Linked DNA regions of Homo sapiens: all the other regions are linked to region 3. The links are contacts of gene promoters, found by promoter capture Hi-C in blood cells and fetal thymus (Javierre and others, 2016). All regions are on one chromosome and are shown on one strand. Each heading gives the region's core, a stretch centred on a gene start or on the middle of the fragment in contact. The rest is flanking DNA. Distances are from core to core; before and after follow the strand shown.

Region 1 (2,700 bases), core at 162-2,661, 620 kb after region 3:
AGACTGGCAAAAGCTCTTGCATCATTTCTTTGGGGCTATTTTTTTTCTGGGTTTAGGATCTTGGAGAAAAAGATTCTCCAGTGGGTTCTTACGGGAGAAGGACAGTCTCCAATGGGTATTTTCAGCCAGTAGCCTTGAGAAGATGAGACACTCTCTGAAAACTTTTGGGGTCAGGGGTATAGTAGGGAAGGCTATACCACTTTCATGTCACTTTCTATATATTTTTGTGCGTACTTTGGTATATTCTTTAAATGCTCCAGGGAAGGTAGAGGACTTAATATTCCTTTTACAGAAGGGGAAGCAGAGGGTTCAGAGAGCTTTAATGATGAGCCTATGGTTGTGTGGCTGGCAAGCCCACACTGTGCTGAGTTCCTTGGGGTGAAGTGGTTAGGTCCGCAAGGGGATGATGTCCAGTGGGCTTAGGGAACCCTGGTAGGGTTTTTTGTTTTCCTGGGGGTGCGTGTCTTACCAGCATCACCCATGGAGCTAAAGATGTTCTCAGTGACGGTTAGGATGGTGTCAGTAGCCTGGTCATAACGGCCAGCAGGCCCAGCCCCTGTGGCATGGGCTTTCACATGCTGCAGCAGCTCATTTAGGGCCTGGGTGACAGCTGTGGCTGCTGCTCCTACCCCTCGCAACAGTTGCCCATCCTCTGTAGCTGCCTGGGAGGCAGACACACAGCCCTCCACGGCTTTGGCTACCAGTCGTCCAGCCTCCACCAGTTGCTCTTGGCAGACAGGTGAGCTGATTGTAGGTGCCACCACCTGTAGGTAAAGTGAATGTCAGAGACGTAGGCAAGGGAAAGGAGGTAGAGTATGCTGCTCATAGCAGTAACTGGGATGGGTGAGGAGGCCTCCAGAGCCAAAGAAATAAAATGAAAGGCTCACGTGTGTGTGGTAGTATTACCCCTCAGCACGGACTAGAGCAACCTTTGGGGCTCACCTTAGTACAGGCCACTAGTTGGGAAGTGGATAGGGCACACTGTGTTGCTGCAGCAATAACTTGGGTCTGAAGTCCCGAGTCCTCTGTCCGCTGGGCCACACTCTTGGCCTTGAGGACCAGGGCAGCTGCAGCACTTGCCACAGCTTTGGCGAGCTGCATTAGCGCATCCTGTGAGAAAACAGCAGTTAGCATGACCTGAGATTGGGCTTGGGATTCACAGACACTTCTCAGAGGCGTAAGCTGCTTCATTATTCCCACTGATCCAATCAAAGGAGAGTGTACGCAGAAGCAACCAGAACCTACCCCGAGCTACTGCCCTGAGCACCCAGCAGGACAGAACCCCCACCGAGGAACAAACCCACACCAAGAGAAAATACAGCCTACACCAAATGGAGACACACATGAGGCGGATACACTCGATGATGACGGGGAGACAATGTGGTGGCGCTGTTACAATGGGGTGGGGAGAGGAGGTAGGAGGTATCTCCTGGGATCCCTCCACCCCCAGCTTCTTTACTCCACTTCTTGATCTTGGATTGGAAGTGGTCATCCTGGAGTCTTGGGAGCAAGTCCCTGTACTACCCTACCTGATCCCATTTCCCAAAGCCTGGCTTCGCCAGGCCTCCTCATCTCCCACCAAGTTCTGGTCCCCCAGGAGGCTGAGGAAGAAGTACAGAAACGAGTGTATGCGGCTCAGAGAGGACAAAGCTGGGAAGGCCCAGGCCAGAGGCTGTTACCGTAGGGGAATCGGGGGGAGATCGAACCCCAGCCCCTCTGGATGCACATATCTGCATGGGAAATCCAGGGTGAAAAGTCAGCTGAGGAAATTGGCATGGAGCGGGAAGGGGGAGAGCTAGAGGAACACTATTCTCAGGGTGGCATGGTCTATAGCATTGTGGGGGGTCCTCAAATTGGGGCAAGGGCTATGTACGGGGAAGAGAGAGAAAAGATGACAAGGGGCTAAAGAATAAATGAGGGCCAAGAGTAAACTAGCAGGTTAAGTTTGGATTCAGGGGTTCTGAATTCTAACCCCTAAAAGAGAGATCAGAAGTTACTAGTATCATCCCCTGGAAATAGAGGTTCAGATTGGTTTTTAGGGGTCAATTCACAGAAGCCAGGACTAGGAACTGGATTCACGAGCAGAAGTTACTTCCTAGATTCTGGGGTTCTGGGGGGTTGGGTAAGTCACCAACCTGGAAGTGGGGGTCAGTATCACTTTCCCCAATTTGTTGCAACAGCTCCCCACTGGCCTGGCCCACGTTCCCAGCTGCTTGCAGCAGGTTCTGACGGGGCTGTGGAGAGTGAACACCAGTCAGAAGCTGCCCAATCCCTGCCCACATGCCTGTGCATATCACAGGCCCACGGGACCCAGGCTTCCATCCTGTGGCTTGGACTGCCCCTTCTCCTTGGGCTTGAACCCTGTCTCCACCCTAACCCAAACCTGTGGCCCCTGACCTCAGCACTGGCTGGTTGGGCACTGCGCAGCAGTTCTGACACTGCTCCCGCAAGGCCCTTTGCTGCCTGCAACAGGGGCCGACCACTGCCGCCTTCGTCCTCCAGCAAGGCAGCCAGCAGCTTCACCCCACGGGACATCTCCGTCAGGTTGGAGGAGATTGTGGTGACTGCACAGCCCACTGCGGTATAGTCTGTCTCAGCAGGGTCCCCTAAGGGGAAAAGGAGAAAGAGGAACATGAGAGACAGGGCAGGCCAGACGAAGGGCTGGGGAGGGAGCAAAGTCACACCCAGTTAGTCACACAC
Region 2 (2,750 bases), core at 34-2,533, 540 kb after region 3:
TTGCTTTTAGGTTTTAGTAACTAGTCTTTATTATATTTAAGCAGTTTTCCTCTTTTTCTTTTTTACTTAGAGTTTTTTTGGGAATAGTATCAAGATGTACTAGCTTTACAATTAAATCTTGGAGCCTTTCTTCGTTTTCTATACTCTTGACCAGTTTAAACGGCATAGAACGGCTGGGCGCGGTGGCTCACGCCTGTAATCCCAACACTTTGGGAGGCCGAGGCGGGCGGATCACGACGTCAGCAGATCGAGATCCATCCTGGCTAACACGGTGAAACCCCGTCTCTACTAAAAATACAAAAAATTAGGCGTGGTGGTGGGCACCTGTAATCCCAGCTACTCGGGAGGCTGAGGCAGGAGAATGGCGTGAACCCGGGAGACGGAGCTTGCAGTGAGCCGAGATCGCCGAGCCACTGCACTCCAGCTTGGGCTACAGAGCCAGACTCCACTCAAAATAAATAAATAAATAAATAAAAATAAATAAATGGCATAGAAATTATTATTTAAGGTTAGAAAAAACTCATATCTGGTGCCATGTGAATGCAGTATTTCCCAAAAGGAGTCTCTCATCACCTTCCTATTGCAGTCTTTTCTAAAATAAGTTGGGCTCTTCAAGCTTTCCTCTTTCTCCTGGGTCAATTTTGGTAATTTATATATTTCTTGAAAGATATCCATTTCCTCTAAATTTTCAAATTGGTTGATTTTCAGTTGTACTGTTTTATAATTCTTCAATTTTCTCCTCTTTTTTTTTTTTTGAGACGGAGTATCGCTCTGTCACCCAGGCTGGAGTGCAGTGGCGCGATCTCGGCTCACTGCAAGCTCCGTCTTCCGGGTTCACGCCATTCTGCCTCAGCCTCCCGAGTAGCTGGGATTACAGGTGCCCACCACCACGCCTAATTTTTTGTATTTTTAGTAGAGACGGGGTTTCACCGTGTTAGCCAGGATGGTCTTGACCTCCTGACCTCGTGATGCGCCCGCCTCGGCCTCCCAAAGTGCTGGGATTACAGGCTTGAGCCACTGTGCCCGGCCTTCTCCTCTATTTGTAAGAATGTTTTCTTTCTCATAACTAATCTTGTCTATTTAATCTTTCTCTCTTTTTCCCCCTTTAATTTGGCTTGCAAGAGGTTTATTTTATTAGCTTTTTTTTTTTTTTCGAGAGGGAGCCTTACTCTGTCGCCCAGGCTGGAGTGCAGTGGCACCATCTCGGCTCACTGCAACCTCTACCTCCTGGGTTCAAACGATTCTCCTTCCTCAGCCTCCCAAGTAGCTGGGGTTACAGGTGTCTGCCACTGCACCCTGCTAATTTTTGTATTTTTTAGGAGAGACAGGTTTTCACCGTGTTGGCCAGGCTGGTCTCAAACTCCTGACCTCAGGTGATCTGCCTGCCTCAGCCTACCAAAGTGCTGGGATTTCAGGCACGAGCCACTGTGCCCAGCCTTATTAGCTCTTTTAAAAGACAATTTTTTGGATTTATTTATCCTTTTTAGTTTTTTTTTTTTTTTCTTTTTGAGACAGGGTGTGGCTCTGTTGCCCTGGCTGGAGTGCAGTGGTGCAATCTCAGCTCACTGCAACCTCCACCTCCTGGGCTCAATCTAACCTCCCATCTCAGCCTCCCAAGTAGCTGGGACTACAGGCGTACACCACCATGCCTGGCTAATTTTTGTACTTTTTTTTTTTTTTCTTCAGAGATGGGGTTTCACCATGTTGCCCAGGCTGGTTTCGAACTCCTAAGCTCAAGTGATTCTCCCGCCTTGGCTTCCCAAAGCGCTGGGATTACAGGCATGAGCCACTGTGCCTGGGCCTTCTTAGTATTTTTGTTTTTTGTTTTTTTTTTTTCATTTCATTAGTGTTAGCTTTAGTTATTATTTTCTGATTTGATTTCTTTTCTTATTCTTTTCATAATTTCTTGAAATAAGTGCTCCCTTTATTTTTCCTGTGCGTGTGTTGTTTAAAGCTTGCTATCTTTTTGACAGTATAATATATGATACAGGGTAATTGAGAGAGTTTCTCATGTTACGCTGTTTTCTCATTTCACATTTTTATTTTGTGAACATAGTATTTTCATTCTTTTTTTAAAAACCAGTTTTATTGCATTGTAATTTATATACAACAAATTGATCCATTTTAAGTGTACAATCCTATGAGTTTTGACAAGTGTATTCAGTTGTGTAATTACCACCACAATTAAGATACAAAACCTTCCTATCTCTCCCAAAATCCTCCTATCCCTTTGCAGGAAGTCTTCTCCCACCTCCCCCAGCCCGTAACTTAAATTTCTCTTGTTTGATATCAGTACAGATGTTCCTTGACTTAGGATGGGACTACGTTCCGAAAAACCCATCATAAGTAGAAAGTAATGTTAGTCGAAAATGCATTTAATACCCTGATAAACCCATCGTAAAGTCAAAGAATCCTAAGTTAAACCATTGTTAAGTCGGGGATTGTCTGTATATAGCCTCTGGTTTTTAAAATAATATTTAATATTTGCCTGGTATCTCTTTCCATGTCTTTATTTTAAAACTTTATCACTTTAAGTGTGTTTCTCTTAAGTAATGTGTGCCTAAATTTGATTTATAACAAAATCTGACAGTCTTTTAATGGTAGATTTCAGTCCGCTTTTATTTACTGTAATGAGTGATGTATTTGATTTTCTTATTTCCATCTTACTTGTTTTAAAGTTTTTTTATATTGTTGTTAACTCTTCTTTTTTTTAATCTTTGCTAGATTAAATAAATTACTACTCATTCAAT
Region 3 (2,700 bases), core at 1-2,500:
TATCAGCACCAACACAACCCGCGAAAATCGGGAAGCCATCCAGCAGGCCCCAGGTTTCCCTTGGCTCCCCCATGGCAGGGACCCAGGGCCTGGGGGCTCTTGGCAGCTGCTATGGTTGGTGAGCTCCAAACGGGTGAGCAGGAAGCCACTGGTGAAGAGGGCAATGCCAGCGTAGAAGAGGAAGCAGACCCAGGCCAGGAAGAGCAACACTGAGGCTTTCTGCATCCTGATAGGGGTGGGGAAGTAAATTCATTACTGTGGGGCAAAGAACCAGTGGATATTCTGGTCCCTGAATACAAGCCCAGCTAGAATCACTTCCTCCCGGAAACCTTCCTGGAGATAAACCATTTCACAGCCAACCCCTCGCAATATTACTCTCCTCCTATTTCCAGGCTGGGCATGGTGGCTCACGCCTGTAATCCCAGCACTTTGGGAGGCCGAGGCGGGCGGATCACCTGAGGTGAGGAGTTCGAGACCAGCCTGGCCAAAATGGCGAAACCCCGTCCCTACTAAAAATACAAAAATGGGTGGCGGGCACCTGTAGTCTCAGCTACTGGGGAGGCTGACGCAGGAGAATCGCTTGAATCGGGGAGGCGGAGGTTGCAGTGAGCCGAGATTGAACCACTGCACTAGAGTCTGGACAACAGAGGGAGACGCCGTTTCATGAGGTCCCACCCCAGATCTACTGAATCAGGATCTTCGAGGGGTAGAGCATAGGAACGTTCACATGTACAGGCAGGAAATGCTAATGCTGCCTGTACATGTGAACAGTCAGGAGGGAAACTTATTCCAATTGGTAGTCAGGCTCTCTTACACGCCGTTTCTGCGCCTCTCCCCTCGCCAATCTCAATACCCAGTGGAAAGGGATCGAAGCCGCAGGGGAATCCGGGCCCAGCCGACGGCGCCGCCTGGCGGGCACCGAGGGGACGAAGGGGAGGAGTCACTCTCCGCTTCCGGGCGGCCAGGTTCGCCAGGAGACCTGAGGCACGACCTTCGCCACGCAAGGAGGCTGGGGCCCGGGTCGAGAGTCGACTGGGCCTCCGCTGGGACCCAGGCGTGCGACCGGCTCTGCCTCCTCCGGTAACTACCCAGCCTCCCGCTGGGCACCCTAGCCGCGGTACTGAGCACCTTGGTTAGGAGCTGAGGGGAAGAGGGAGACTCCCTTACTTCAGGGTGAGGGGAATACCGGGGGGTGAGGTTCTCGGGAGACCCTGGCTCACCTGCAATGGCACCCGGAAGTGCGGCGGCGGCGGCGCCTGCGACCTGGCAGCACAGAGATGCGTGCGCCAGACAGAGTGGCCCGTCGGTGGCTCCATCGCCATCTGCCGGCACCTCGGTGGAAGTTTGGCCAGGAGCGTGGGGCTGGCCCCAGTTTGATGGGATATTTAGTAATTGAAAATTGGGGACAGGGGACCAAGCTGGAGGAAGAGTTCAGGGAACCACTGTCCATTCATGGTTACGACTAAGAGCACGGCTGCTGGAGTCAAACTTGACTTGAATCCTAGCTTGGCCGCACATATTGTCATCATTAGGCATTACCTCATCTGTAAAATGGAGATAATACTTATTTTCCCTTTTTTGCTTAGCTGAGTCCAACTGAGATTTCATTACTCCTCCTTTCAAAGCCTGTAACTAAATCTTACGACTGAATAATTAAGCAAATAATCCTTCGGAGTGGAGGAGGGGAGGCTGGGCCCAGTGGTTCACACCTGTAATCCCAGCACTTTGGGAGGTCAAGGCAGGTGGATCACCTAAGGTCAGGAGTTCAAGACCAGCCCGGCCAATATGACGAAACGCCGTCTCTACTGAAAATACAAAAGTTACCCGGGAGTGGTGGCGGGCGCCTGTGATCCCAGATACCTGGGAGGCTGAGGCAGGAGAATCACTCGAACCCAGGAGGCAGAGGTTGCAGTGAGCCGAGATTGCACCACTGCACTCCAGCCTGGGCAACAGAGCAAGACTCCCTCTCAAAAAAAAAAAAAAAAATGCCAGGCACGATGACTCACACCTGTAAGCCCAGCACTTTGGGAGGCTGAGGCTGGAGAATCAGTTGAAGTCAGGAATTGGAGACCAGCCTGGCCAACATGCTGAAACCCCAACTCTACTAAAAATTACAAAATTTAGCCAGGCGTGGCGATGTGTACCTGTAGTCCCAGCTACTGAGGAGGCTGAGACTGGACAATTGCTTGAAGCCAGGAGGCAGAGGCTACAGTGAGCTGAGATCGTGCTACTGCACTCCAGCCTAGGCAACAGAGCAAGACTCTGTCTCAAAAAGAAACAAAACCCGTCCACTGGTTTCTCATCTCAGAGTAAAAGTTCTTGCATTGGCTCTACATGGCCCTGCACACTATCTGCCTCTTCCCCTTCTGATTCATCTAGCTGCCACTTCTTTGCTTCCCTAACTCTGTTCCATCCACAGCAGTTCTGCCTCAGGACCTTTGCATTTGCCATCTCCTCTGTCAGCTTCAGTTCCCGATGCCGAAATGGATCTCCATCACCTTCATATTGAAGCTCAACTGTAACATCAGCAAGGCTTCCTGCAATCCCCTACTTTACTAGTTCAGCACCTCCCACCACCACACCCCCTGGAAAAATTTCCCCTCACTTCCTTAATTTCTTCCATAGCACAACTCATCAGCATCTGAAATTCTACACGTATTTATGGTTTATCCCCTCCGAGTAGAATGTGAGCTCATTGAG
Region 4 (2,784 bases), core at 285-2,784, 550 kb after region 3:
GGGTCCCTCCCGTCTCTAAGTTCCAGGTCCACTCCAGTCTGTGGACTCCTGAGGAATATACCCACCCACCCACTGTCAGGCCCTTACCCCTCCCCCACCGCCCACTTCCTGTGCCTGAGGAGACACTGAGGCGTGGGGGTAGACTATGAGGGAGCGGGGGTGGGGAGGATCTGGTTAAACTCCAGAAGAAGGAAGTGAGAACCTGGGAGTTTGGGGGCTAAGAGGAACAGATAGAAAAAAGAAATAAGGAGGGGGCTACTGTCTTTGCCTCCTCCATCACGAAAGCTTTGCCCTGAGATGTCTCCCTTGAAGCTCAGATAGGAAGTCCGGGGTAGATCACATCCTGTGACTTGGCAATGGCGCCCGTCTTTGGGTGCTGGTTGGGAAACAGTCATGCCCCTGCTACGGGGGGCTGGGGCAGTGCACGCCCCGCTGTGCCAGGCCCTCCATCTCAGCTGGCTGCAGGCTGGCTGTTGGCATAGGCCTGATCCGGGAAGGAGGCCCGGGCCCTGCGGGTCTGGGCACATACTGAGGCATAGAGCTCCGGCTCGGGGCCCGAGGCCTGGGACTTTGGCTCAGAGTCCAGCACCACCTCCGAGTACTTGACGGGGGTTCCAGGACCGGGGATCCGACCCTGAGGAGGCCGCAGCTGCAGGCTGGTATAGCACATCACCTCCTCTGCAGCCTGGAGATGCAAGGCTGTTAGAAGTTCACTGGACCCTCGGAAAAGCCCGAAAAGCCCCCCACTTCCTTCCCTCCCCCTTTTCTCCAGCCACAGTTGACTCACCCTGGCAGGGCCTCCAAGAGTTGGATCCTGCTGGTCTGGCTCTGGGTCTTGAGACAGCCGTCCTGGGACGGGGAACAGGAATCTGGTCAGCAACTTGTCCTTCCTCCTGCACGCCCCCATCCCAGCCACCCAGGACCTGGCCTCTGTGCCCCTCCTCTCTGCCAGCTCCCTACCTGTCTGTAGATAATGCAGGTTCCCATACAGCGGGACCTCTTCCACAGACTCTCCAGAGCTGCAACGCAGAGTTTAGGGGATGAGTGGGGACTTCTCGGTAAGAGAGAACTCTCAGTCAACCCATCCCTGTTGTCCTTCACCCACCGTCCCTGCCCCGGATGGCTCCTGCTCCGGCCCCTGGTCCACTGGGACAAGTGTGCAGCCAGCGAGATGAGAAATAGCAGCGTCACAGCCCCTAAGAGGACCCACAGTCCCCAGGCCTGGGTTATGGAGGGGATTCCTGTGGATGTGAAAGGAAGGGGGGTGTAACAGCCCCGCCCCACCCCCAGGGCCCAGCAGGTGGGACCTGGGGCCACATGACCCCTCCCCCACCAGCCCCTGCCCTGCCCAGCTCACCCAGTGCGAGTAGATCCGTGCAGTTGTCGCCTCTGCTCATGGCTGCAGATGTGAGAGTCCACAAGCACACTGCTCTGAGCCGAGGGTCAGCCTGGTTCATGGCCTGACGGTTTCCACAGCACTTCTTACTCCCATCCCTCCTCAGGCCCGTACCCCGCAGCTCAGCATCCCCAATACTGGTGGTGGCAAAGTCTCTGGTTTCCGGGGAGGAAGGGGGAGGGGAGGGATGAAAAAAAGAACAAAGACCCCGCCCTGTGCCTGCACCTGCGCCACTCCTGCAGCTCCTGAGCTTCCCCCACCCTCGCTGCCCAGGCCCTTTGCCCCCCTTGAGAAGAGAAGCAGGCCTGTGGGTAATGTGCCACGGGCAGTTGAGTCCCTGAGGACTCTGAGGGCGGGGGGTGGGGGCAGAAGTGGTGTGAAGCAGGACTAACAAGGACAGGAACACCCCTTCTGCTCCAGGATGCCCACCTTCCTCCCTGACTCTGGTCCCAGAAGAAAGATGTATTCCTCAATGAGTATGGTATAAAGTGGAAGGGTCGGGGGAGCCTCCTGGTACCTCTGATCCCATCACACCCTAAGGCTGATCTGAGAGGATATGTGTTTAGATGATGCTTGTTATTGTTTCATTGGGGGCATTATAATTTGGGGGACACCCCCAAACCTCCCCTTTCAACCCACTTCATCCAAACTGTCTGTAAGAACTGTCACTCTCAATAATTAATTGCATTTTAAAACTCTTTGCTGTAGGACTGTCCTGGGAAACTGAGCCCTATCTTGCACATGTTCACTTCAGCGGGTGTAGTACCTGCCATACCTAGAGCTAACTCCATCACGTGCAAGGCTATTGATGTAGGAAGAGGGATTTTAAGTTGCAAATATAAACCTGAGACCAGAAGTCAGAGATGTGTTTTGTCTAGCCCATACAACATTTTTTAAAAGTTTAAAATCAGTGCAGTGGCATGCCAACAATAGGGATGGCAGAAGTCCTGCCCCTTGAGTTGCAGGCAATAAGGGGGTGCATTGTCTGTAGAGAATTTAAAAAATAAAAATCAGTCCTCTTATTATCACCATGTTCCAGAAATTCTGAAAAAAAAAATCAGTGATAAAATTATCCTCCCTGAAAAATATTTTATGGATCTAAGTTTTATATTTTTTTTGAGACAGGGTCTTACTTTGTCTCCCAGGTTGGAGTGCAGTAACACAATCTCAGCTCACTGCAGCCTTGACGATCTCCCGGGCTCAAGTGATCCTCCCATCTCAGCCACCTAAGCAGCTAGGACTACAGGCATGTGCCACCACACCCAGCTAATCTAGTTCATTTTTTGTAGAGATAGGTCTCCCTGTGTTGCCAGGCTGGTCTCAACTCCTGACCTCAAGCAACCTGCCCACCTCGGTCTCCCAAAGTGCTGGAATTACAGGCATGAGCC

Evidence for each region. Contacts are between HindIII fragments. The CHiCAGO score rates a contact against its expected background, and 5 or more counts as called.
Region 1: a contact is called between a fragment that was not itself captured here and the fragment with the promoter of PIGO in region 3, in 1 of 17 cell types (M2 macrophages). The highest score is 5.5, in M2 macrophages.
Region 2: a fragment that was not itself captured here is called in contact with the fragment with the promoter of PIGO in region 3 in 1 of 17 cell types (megakaryocytes); the score reaches 5.5 in megakaryocytes.
Region 4: a contact is called between the fragment with the promoter of SIT1 here and the fragment with the promoter of PIGO in region 3, in 6 of 17 cell types (neutrophils, non-activated CD4 T cells, M1 macrophages and 3 more). The highest score is 7.0, in neutrophils.

Annotation. Positions count from the first base shown.
Region 1 is chr9:35,716,677-35,719,376 of GRCh38, forward strand. TLN1 (talin 1) reads right to left here. Exons shown (of 57, transcript NM_006289.4): 16 at 2,398-2,606; 17 at 2,136-2,234; 18 at 943-1,110; 19 at 470-764. Among named protein-coding and RNA genes, the nearest start is that of MIR6852, 7.3 kb to the left of the region's middle. The HindIII fragment of the contact is 7,135 bases long and covers 1-2,700 here.
Region 2 is chr9:35,631,441-35,634,190 of GRCh38, forward strand. It overlaps a transcript of CD72 not described here. Among named protein-coding and RNA genes, the nearest start is that of CD72, 14 kb to the left of the region's middle. The HindIII fragment of the contact is 1,338 bases long and covers 615-1,952 here.
Region 3 is chr9:35,095,341-35,098,040 of GRCh38, forward strand. PIGO (phosphatidylinositol glycan anchor biosynthesis class O) reads right to left here and starts at 1,251. Exons shown (of 11, transcript NM_032634.4): 1 at 815-1,251; 2 at 1-226. The coding sequence starts at 225. PIGO-AS1 (PIGO antisense RNA 1) reads left to right here and starts at 964. Exons shown (of 2, transcript NR_186491.1): 1 at 964-1,080; 2 at 2,420-2,700. RefSeq lists an enhancer at 918-1,257. The HindIII fragment of the contact is 7,045 bases long and covers 1-2,700 here.
Region 4 is chr9:35,649,397-35,652,180 of GRCh38, forward strand. SIT1 (signaling threshold regulating transmembrane adaptor 1) reads right to left here and starts at 1,535. Exons shown (of 5, transcript NM_014450.3): 1 at 1,358-1,535; 2 at 1,106-1,241; 3 at 961-1,019; 4 at 788-849; 5 at 1-685. The coding sequence starts at 1,457. The coding sequence ends at 452. RefSeq lists an enhancer at 286-335 and a silencer at 1,246-1,315. The HindIII fragment of the contact is 5,575 bases long and covers 284-2,784 here.